2 separate regions of the Homo sapiens genome follow, and region 2 is linked to region 1. Evidence: promoter capture Hi-C in human tissues and cell types (Jung and others, 2019). All regions are on one chromosome and are shown on one strand. Each heading gives the region's core, a stretch centred on a gene start or on the middle of the fragment in contact. The rest is flanking DNA. Distances are from core to core; before and after follow the strand shown. Region 1 holds the start of TRAF4 (TNF receptor associated factor 4). Region 2 overlaps FAM222B (family with sequence similarity 222 member B).

What was found. Contacts are between HindIII fragments. The study calls those that stand out against the background at their distance.
Region 2: a contact is called between a fragment that was not itself captured here and the fragment with the promoter of TRAF4 in region 1, in 2 of the 25 tissues and cell types used here (mesenchymal stem cells and ovary).

The regions. Positions count from the first base shown.
Region 1 is chr17:28,741,909-28,745,735 of GRCh38, forward strand. TRAF4 (TNF receptor associated factor 4) reads left to right here and starts at 2,103. Exons shown (of 7, transcript NM_004295.4): 1 at 2,103-2,347. The coding sequence starts at 2,205. It overlaps NEK8 (NIMA related kinase 8), which reads left to right. Exons shown (of 15, transcript NM_178170.3): 15 at 51-1,547. The coding sequence ends at 79. RefSeq lists enhancers at 1-43, 1,179-2,179, 1,203-1,497 and silencers at 1,203-1,497, 1,952-2,361, 2,382-2,581. The HindIII fragment of the contact is 18,595 bases long and covers 1-3,827 here.
Region 2 is chr17:28,786,758-28,790,584 of GRCh38, forward strand. All of the region lies in intron 1 of FAM222B (family with sequence similarity 222 member B), which reads right to left. Among named protein-coding and RNA genes, the nearest start is that of TRAF4, 45 kb to the left of the region's middle. The HindIII fragment of the contact is 3,691 bases long and covers 209-3,827 here.

The DNA.
Region 1 (3,827 bases), core at 853-3,352:
GGAGGCACTGCCCTCAGAAGCTGCAAGGGTTTCTCTTCGGTACCCTCCAGCGGTCACAGATGAGCCGGTCCCCCCCTGAGGCACCCGGATTCACCTCTGGACCACCCTGATATTGCTTCTCCTCTGAATGCTCTGAAAAGTGCAGGTGCCCAAGGCATGACTTGCAGCTGTCTCCTGGATTGTGTCATCATGGGGTATCAGGGCTGGCAAAACCCCTGCTCTGCTTTTGGCCTTGGATATGGAAACCTCAACCACTTTGTTCTCCTACCACCTCTTTGCCCTTCCTACCCCTTCCTCCCTTCAGTCAGTGTCCCCAGGGTCCAGCCTGGCTAGAGTTAGAAGGCAGACCTAGCCTTTGGAAGCAGGGTGGCCTCCAGAGCCTTGCCATAAAAAGGCTGAAGGCAGCCGGGCGCAGTGGCTCACGCCTGTAATCCCAGCACTTTGGGAGGCTGAGGCGGGCGGATCACGAGGTCAGGAGATCGAGACCATCCTGGCTAACGTGGTGAAACCCCATCTCTACTAAAAATACAAAAAAATTAGCTGGGCGTGGTGGCACGCGCCTGTAGTCCCAGCTGCTCAGGAGGCTGAGGCAGGAGAATGGCGTAAACCCCTCCAGCCTGGGCGACAGAACCAGACTCCGTCTCAAAAAAAAAAAAAAAACAAAAAAGGCTGAAGGCAGCTGTAGCTCCACACAGACCCTACCCTTTCCCCTAGCCCAGTTAGAAAATAAGTCTGGGCCGGCGGCGGTGGCTCACACCTGCATAGGCAGTGCTTTGGCCAGGAGGATCCCTTGATCCCTTGTGGCCAGGAGTTGGGAGACCAGCCTGGGGACCATAGCGAGACCGCTGTCTCCACCAAAAAAAAAAAAAAAGAAGAAAATAAGGCTGGGTGCGGTGGCTCACGCCTGTAATTCCAGCACTTTGGGAGGCCAAGGCGGGCGGATCACTTGAGGTCAGTAGACTGAGGCCAGCCTGGCCAACATGGTGAAACCCCGTCTCTACTAAAAATACAAAAATTAACCAGGCATGGTGACGGGCGCCTGTAATCCCAGCTACTCTGGAGGCTAAGGCAAGAGAATCCCTTGAACCCGGGAGGTGAAGTTTGCAGTGAGCCGAGATCGCACCACTGCACTCCAGCCTGGATGACAGAGCAAGTCTCCCTCTCAAAAAAAAAAAAAAAAAAAAAAAAAAAAAAGTATTTGGTGCTTACCGGGACTCTATCTCCATACTTTGGAGCAGGGCAAGCCAGGGCCTGCCTGGACTGGCCATTAGGCCTGCCTAGCTTCTGCATAGCCCGGGGCTGGGCGGTCCCCGGGAGTGCTGCCACCTCCCCTACACTTTCATCCTGAGGCAGGATTTGCTAGACGTCGGCTTGCCTCTCTTCCCCAGCAGGAGGGCAGGAGTCACTAAGTGCTGCAGAAAAGATCCGCGCTGGAGATTGCCCGTCCCCCCCATGCCTTTCCCCAGAAACAGTTGAGAGAATGGGTAGCTGGTGGGACCAGACCGGTTTCCCAGAGGACAGGAAGGCCAATAAAAATATCAGCTGCCTGCCTGGAGTGTGGTGTCTTCAAGGGTGGGGGTGGCGACCAGGCACCCCAGGACTGGGCTGGGCCCGACCTCGGTGGCAGGGCTGCGGCCAAGGGAGGAATGTGGGCGCAGCCGGAGGCTGGGGCCGAGGTTCCTCTGGCCCAGCGCCCAGTCCAGCCTCCCCGCCCCAGCTGGGCTCCCCGGAGCTGGTTGCCAGGCTTCGGCTGCCTAGCACCTGGAAGCTGGGGCCACGGTTCCTGGGCTGCTCACGGCCCCGGAGGCCGAGCTGTTGCCTCTGGAGAAGAAAACCTTTGTGGCGCGGCCCGTCCCCTTTTCCGACCCGCACTTCCCCGGGGCCCGCGGGCTCTGGGGAGAAGCGGAGCCACGATCTCTGTCCCCCAGGGGAAAGAAAAGCCCATGATCCCGTGGGTGGGCGAGACTGGCGGTCACCAGACCCAAAAACCATGCACTCGGGGGTGGGCGGGGCCGCGAGGGCGCGCATTAGGACCGCGCGGCCGCGGTCCGCCCTCTCTTCCGGAGGGCGGGCTTCACAGCCGAGCCCTGGCCGCGACCGCCAGTCGGCGCCGCCCGGAGCCGGGAGCGCCGCTCCAGCGAGGCGCGGGCTGTGGGGCCGCCGCGTGCCTGGCCCCGCTCGCCCGTGCCGGCCGCTCGCCCGCCATGCCTGGCTTCGACTACAAGTTCCTGGAGAAGCCCAAGCGACGGCTGCTGTGCCCACTGTGCGGGAAGCCCATGCGCGAGCCTGTGCAGGTTTCCACCTGCGGCCACCGTTTCTGCGATACCTGCCTGCAGGAGTTCCTCAGGTGCTGGCCGGGGAGCAGGGGACAGCGGGGGCGGGGCGGGGCGGGGGGCGCCGCCTGGGGAGGGTCTCGGGCCCGGGGCAAGGCGGGCCTTTGTCTGCGCTGCGACCCTGTGACCTCAGGGGCGCCCCGTGACGTCACGGGGAGGGATGACGTCAAGCCCCGAGGGAGGCCCCCCCCGCAGGAATCCGAGGGGTCCGGGCGGGTCCCAACTGCCCGGCCCGGGGCGGAAGACCTCGGCGCCTTCTCGTGGGGTCAGGAGGGGAAGAGGCCCTTCCCCGTCACCTGAGAGCCGGCGCGGCCTCAGCCTTGAACTTTGAATCCTGGGGGAAGAGGACAAAACCCGCTCCCGCGTGGCAGTTTGAGCCTCCGGAGCTTTCCCCCATCTAACCTCTTCTGATTCTTCGAACGTTCAGAGAACGGTAGCTATTGTTCTCCCATTTCACAGATCATGAAACGAGATTCAAAGAAAGGCTGCGACTTGCCCAGGGTCACATAGTTACTTAAAGGCTTAACTAGGATTTAAACCCGGACTGCTTATGATCACACAATGGAGGAAGGACTGAATCCTCCCCCGAAGAAGGACCCCTCTAGGCGGCTCCCCTCTCTCCCGGGGGCTGGAGTAAGGCGGGTGGTCCATAAGTCATGAAGAAGGGGGTCGCACTCGTGTTGTTACTGAACTCCCGCTGCCCTCTCAGGACGCAGGTTAGCCCTTGGCTCTTGGGCATCCATCAAGTTTCTGGGCGCCCTGTATGTCTTGAATCTCCTGCTCACGCAGGGAACCCCTCAGGCCCGGGTGTGGGAAGCAGGGTGAAGGAGCCCCGACTCTTCGGAGGTCATGCCCCCAGAGCGCAGGGGAAGGCCGAGTCGGCCACTGCCTGGCTGTTTGCTGGGACGAGGGGATCGAGGGCCTGGCAGGGATAGTACCTCTGAGACGCCTGCCTCCGGTGCTCCCTCCCGCCGTGCCTCCCTCCCTCGCTCGGTCCTCCGTAGCTCCTACTGGCGGAAATCTCAGCAGGCCCTTTGTTTTCTGTTCCCCACAGCCTGGGCCGGCTCCTGCCCTCACATATGCTCCGGCACAAGCTGCAGGACTGCCCCCTCCCCCTCGGCAGTGTACACATTTACTCTCCTACAGACACAGCCCCATTGTCTCCGCCACTGCTCTTCCCCGGCCCTCTGGGTTCCAGATGAGGCCAGCTGAGCCCCCCGACCCCCCCACAGCTGACCCACCCTGACTGCCTCGGGAAAGGAGCGGGGGAGGGGGCCGTCAGGCCGGATTCCTTCCACCACCTTCTTGGCCCCCCTCTCTGCCACTCCCCCTCCCGGAAATCCCCTCTTCCTCTCCCACTCCCACACCCCCTCCCCCCATCCTGTCTTCTTCCCTGGGCCTTGGCCTCCACTGCACAGCCTGGAGCAGCCTCTGCCCTGCCTGTCCCCCATCCCCCAGTGCCTGAGCTGTGCTGCTGAGGCTTCTGAAGGGGAG
Region 2 (3,827 bases), core at 804-3,303, 45 kb after region 1:
TGACAACTTCTTAGAACTAGTTCTCTGTGCACAACGCCTTGCCATACATTGCTAGTGAAGAGTTTCAGAAAGGACAGTAAATTCAGGGCAGGGAGAATGAAGTTTTACTTATAGCTAACACACTGCCCTTCACTGTATTTTTTTTTTTTTTTTTTTTTTTTTTTTGAGACAGAGTCTCGCTCTGTCGCCCAGCCTGGAGTGCAGTGGCGCGATCTCGAGTGCAGTGGTGCGATCTCCGCTCACGGCAACCTCCACCTCCTGGGTTCACGCCATTCTCCTGCCTCAGCCTCCTGAGTAGTTGAGACTACAGGCGCCCGCAACCACGCCCAGCTAATTTTTTTGTATTTTTAGTAGAGACGGGGTTTCACCATGTTAGCCAGGATGGTATGATCTCCTGACCTCGTGATCCACCCTCCTCGGCCTCCCAAAGTGCTGGGATTACAGGCGTGAGCCACCATGCCCAGCCCCCACTGTATCTTCTATTCTTCTGTTATCTAGGGCTAGTTTCCCAATCTTGCCAAGGCAGATTATAAGGTAATACAGAAAGACAAGTTTGATACATTAATGCATTCTATTCCCTTTAGGCCCTTCCTTCTCCTCCCCCAGCCTGAGTATGGACCATGAGGAATCCTGATATGTAATAACCTTTGTCAAAGGCTTCTATATAGCCTTAGTGAAAATCAAAGCACTTACATTGCTTGTCACTGAGACTCACTATAACTTGAAGATTTATGGTTCACGCTCCACATGTCCAAGGAATTAGCAGGTTTCTGAAGCTAAAGGGTCTCTGAAAGCTCAAGAGGCTGCTAAGCTTAAAGGGGCCCGAGAATTGAAAGCTTAAAGGAAGAGGTGGAGCACCCCCTTCCACACCTGGCAGACCACAACTAGCTAATGAAATTTGCAATGCTGGGTCAATCTACAGGAAGGAAAAACAGATATACAGTCCCTGTTAGAATAATACTTTCATAGCTAGGGTAAACACACAGATAAAGATTCTGAAATTCACTTTAGGAAGCTTCCTCATTTCAGGAACTGTCTGCAAAACAAATAAAAAACTAATAAAGTAGTCTTTTTTTTTTTTTTTTTGAGACGGAGTTTCGCTCTTGTTGCAGGCTGGAGTGCAATGGCACGATCTTGGCTCACCGCAACCTCCACCTCCTGGGTTCAAGCAATTCTCCTGCCTCAGCCTCCCGAGTGGCTAGGATTACAGGAATGTGCCACCACACCCAGCTAATTTTGAATTTTTAGTAGAGATGGGGTTTCTCCATGTTGGTCAGGCTAGTTTTGAACTCCCAACCTCAGGTGATCCGCCCGCCTCGGCCTCCCAAAGTGCTGGGATTACAGGCGTGAGCCACCGCACCCAGCCTAAAGCAGTCCTTTAAACCTCTAAAGTGTTGAAAGTACCACAACTCACTCAATGATCAGCAGAATTATTTGGCTCCCTTCTGTGGACCTGAGAAATTCAAAAGTCATTCAGAATTGCTTTTTTGTTTGTTTTTGACACAAGGTCTCACCCTGTCATCCAGGCTGGAGTATGGTGGTGCAATCATAGCTCACTGCAACCTTGAACTTCTAGGCTTAACGGATCTTCTTGCCTCAGCTTCCTGAGTAGCTGGGATTATAGGTGCACACCATTGCATGTGGCTAATTTTTTTGTTTTTTATAGAGACAGGTTTTTGCCATGTTGCCCAGGCTGGTCTGGAACTCATGAGCTCAGGCAATCTGCCTGCCTCGGCCTCCCAAAGTGCTGGGATTACAGGCATGAGCCACCGCGTCCGGCCTCAGTATTGTTATTTATCAAAGTGTGTGACTGCTTCTAACCTGTCAAATATGCATCTTATACTACATATTAAGTCCCACCAAACAAGTCATTTAAGTCAACATTATTTTAGCATTGAGTTAATCGGGGAGGAAAAATCCAATAAATATACATGTAACTCTAAAGATGCCCAAATAATTGTAATTTGCCCTCCCTTTTAAAATTAATTTACTTTTGTTTTTTGAGTCAGAGTCTCACTCTGTCATCCAGGCTGGAGCGCAGTGATGCAATATTGGCTTACTATAACCACTGCCTCCCAGGTTCAAACAATTCTCCTGCCTCAGCCTCCCGAGTAGCTGGGATTACAGATGCCCGCCACCACACCCACCTAATTTTTGTATTTTTAGTTTAGTAGAGATGGGGTTTCACCATGTTAGCCAGGCTGGTCTTGAACTCCTGATTTCAGGTGATCTGCCTGCCTGCCTCGGCCTCCCAAAGTGCTGGGATTACAGATGTAAGCCACAGCGCCCGGCCTTGCCTTTCTTTTATCTCAAAGATACCTCAAAAAAAAAAAAAAAAAAAAAAAACTAACACCCCCCCGACAAGTAATCTTATGGATAGTGGTAGAAAACAAAAGTTCAAAATTCTTCTATTACTGGTACACATCTTCTTCATTCTGTGTCCTTTTTTTTTTTTTTGAGATGGAGTCTCGCTCTGTTACGCAGGCTGGAGTGTGCAGTGGCGGAATCTCAGCTCATTGCAACCTCTACCTCCTGGGTTCAAGCAACTCTCTGTCTCAGCCTCATGAGTAGCTGGGATTACAGGCACCCACCACCATGCACAGCTAATTTTTTGTATTCTTAGTACACACGGGGTTTCACCATCTTAGCCAGGCTGGTCTTGAACTCCTGAACGATCCACCTGCCTCGGCCCCCCAAATTCCTGGGGTTACAGGCGTGAGCCACTGTGCCTGGCCCACTGTCCTCTTTAATTTCTTCTCTCTTTGGGACCTCCCTTACCAACTCAGTGTCCTTATCAACTTTTACCCAGTTCTATTAAGTCACTTCAATTGAATTAGAAATGGAAGCTACCCAAACAGAATGAGAAGAGTACTGGATGCAGTGATCACTCCCACCCAATTGCAATGAGCCCCAACAGGGCCTACTCTTGGTTTCTAAATACTGCATTTTCCATTGAAAGGAACCAAGGCTCCTTGGAGAATTGACTGAGGCAGAGAAAGTACTAGATGAGTCTAATATATCTTATTGTGCAGGAAAGGAAGTGCTCAAAGAATAACAGTGAAATATCAAAGGACAAAGAAGGCACAAGATGCTTAGTTGGTGAGGGAAACCCCAGAGACAGAAGTTTACACAGTAGAAATTAGAGAAGACATTGAGTGGGTACACTGGGTAAAGCAGGCATGTTACCAGAATACAACAGTTGTGAATTTTTCTTTTCTACCATTGCCTGTAAGGTGTTAGTTTGGGGAGTATTTATCTGTCAACCTATTGAAATAAAAGAATGGCAGATTATTTGGGCATTTTTATGATTAAACATATATTTATATAATTTTTTTTCTTGATTTACTGGCCAAATCGGGAATAATCTGAGCATCAAAATAAATAATAAAAGATGATATTTCATTGAATAAAACAAGAAATCATTAGTTCATACTAATGTAAACAAATACATTGGAAGGCTGAAAAGGAATGCAATATTTGTATAGTTTCTAAGCCCTGTCTCCTAAAAATACTAATTACAAAGGGAAAATGAGTAACTTTACTTAGGAAAAGCCTAGCAAACACCACCTTAATCAAGTGATCAAACATTATCAGTAACGATACAAATCAAAATTCTGTACCTTTTGAAATCATGCAGTGAAGAACACAGCATCACTCCTGTGATATTCCTGTTGAAGATATGTTACCTAAATTAAACACAAGGAACCACCAGACAAGTCCAAATTGAGGGACTTTCTACAAAATAACTTAATAGCATCAAGGTTATGAACATCAAAGAAGGCCTGAAGAAACTGTTCCAGACTGGAGGAGACTAAGACAACATGAAA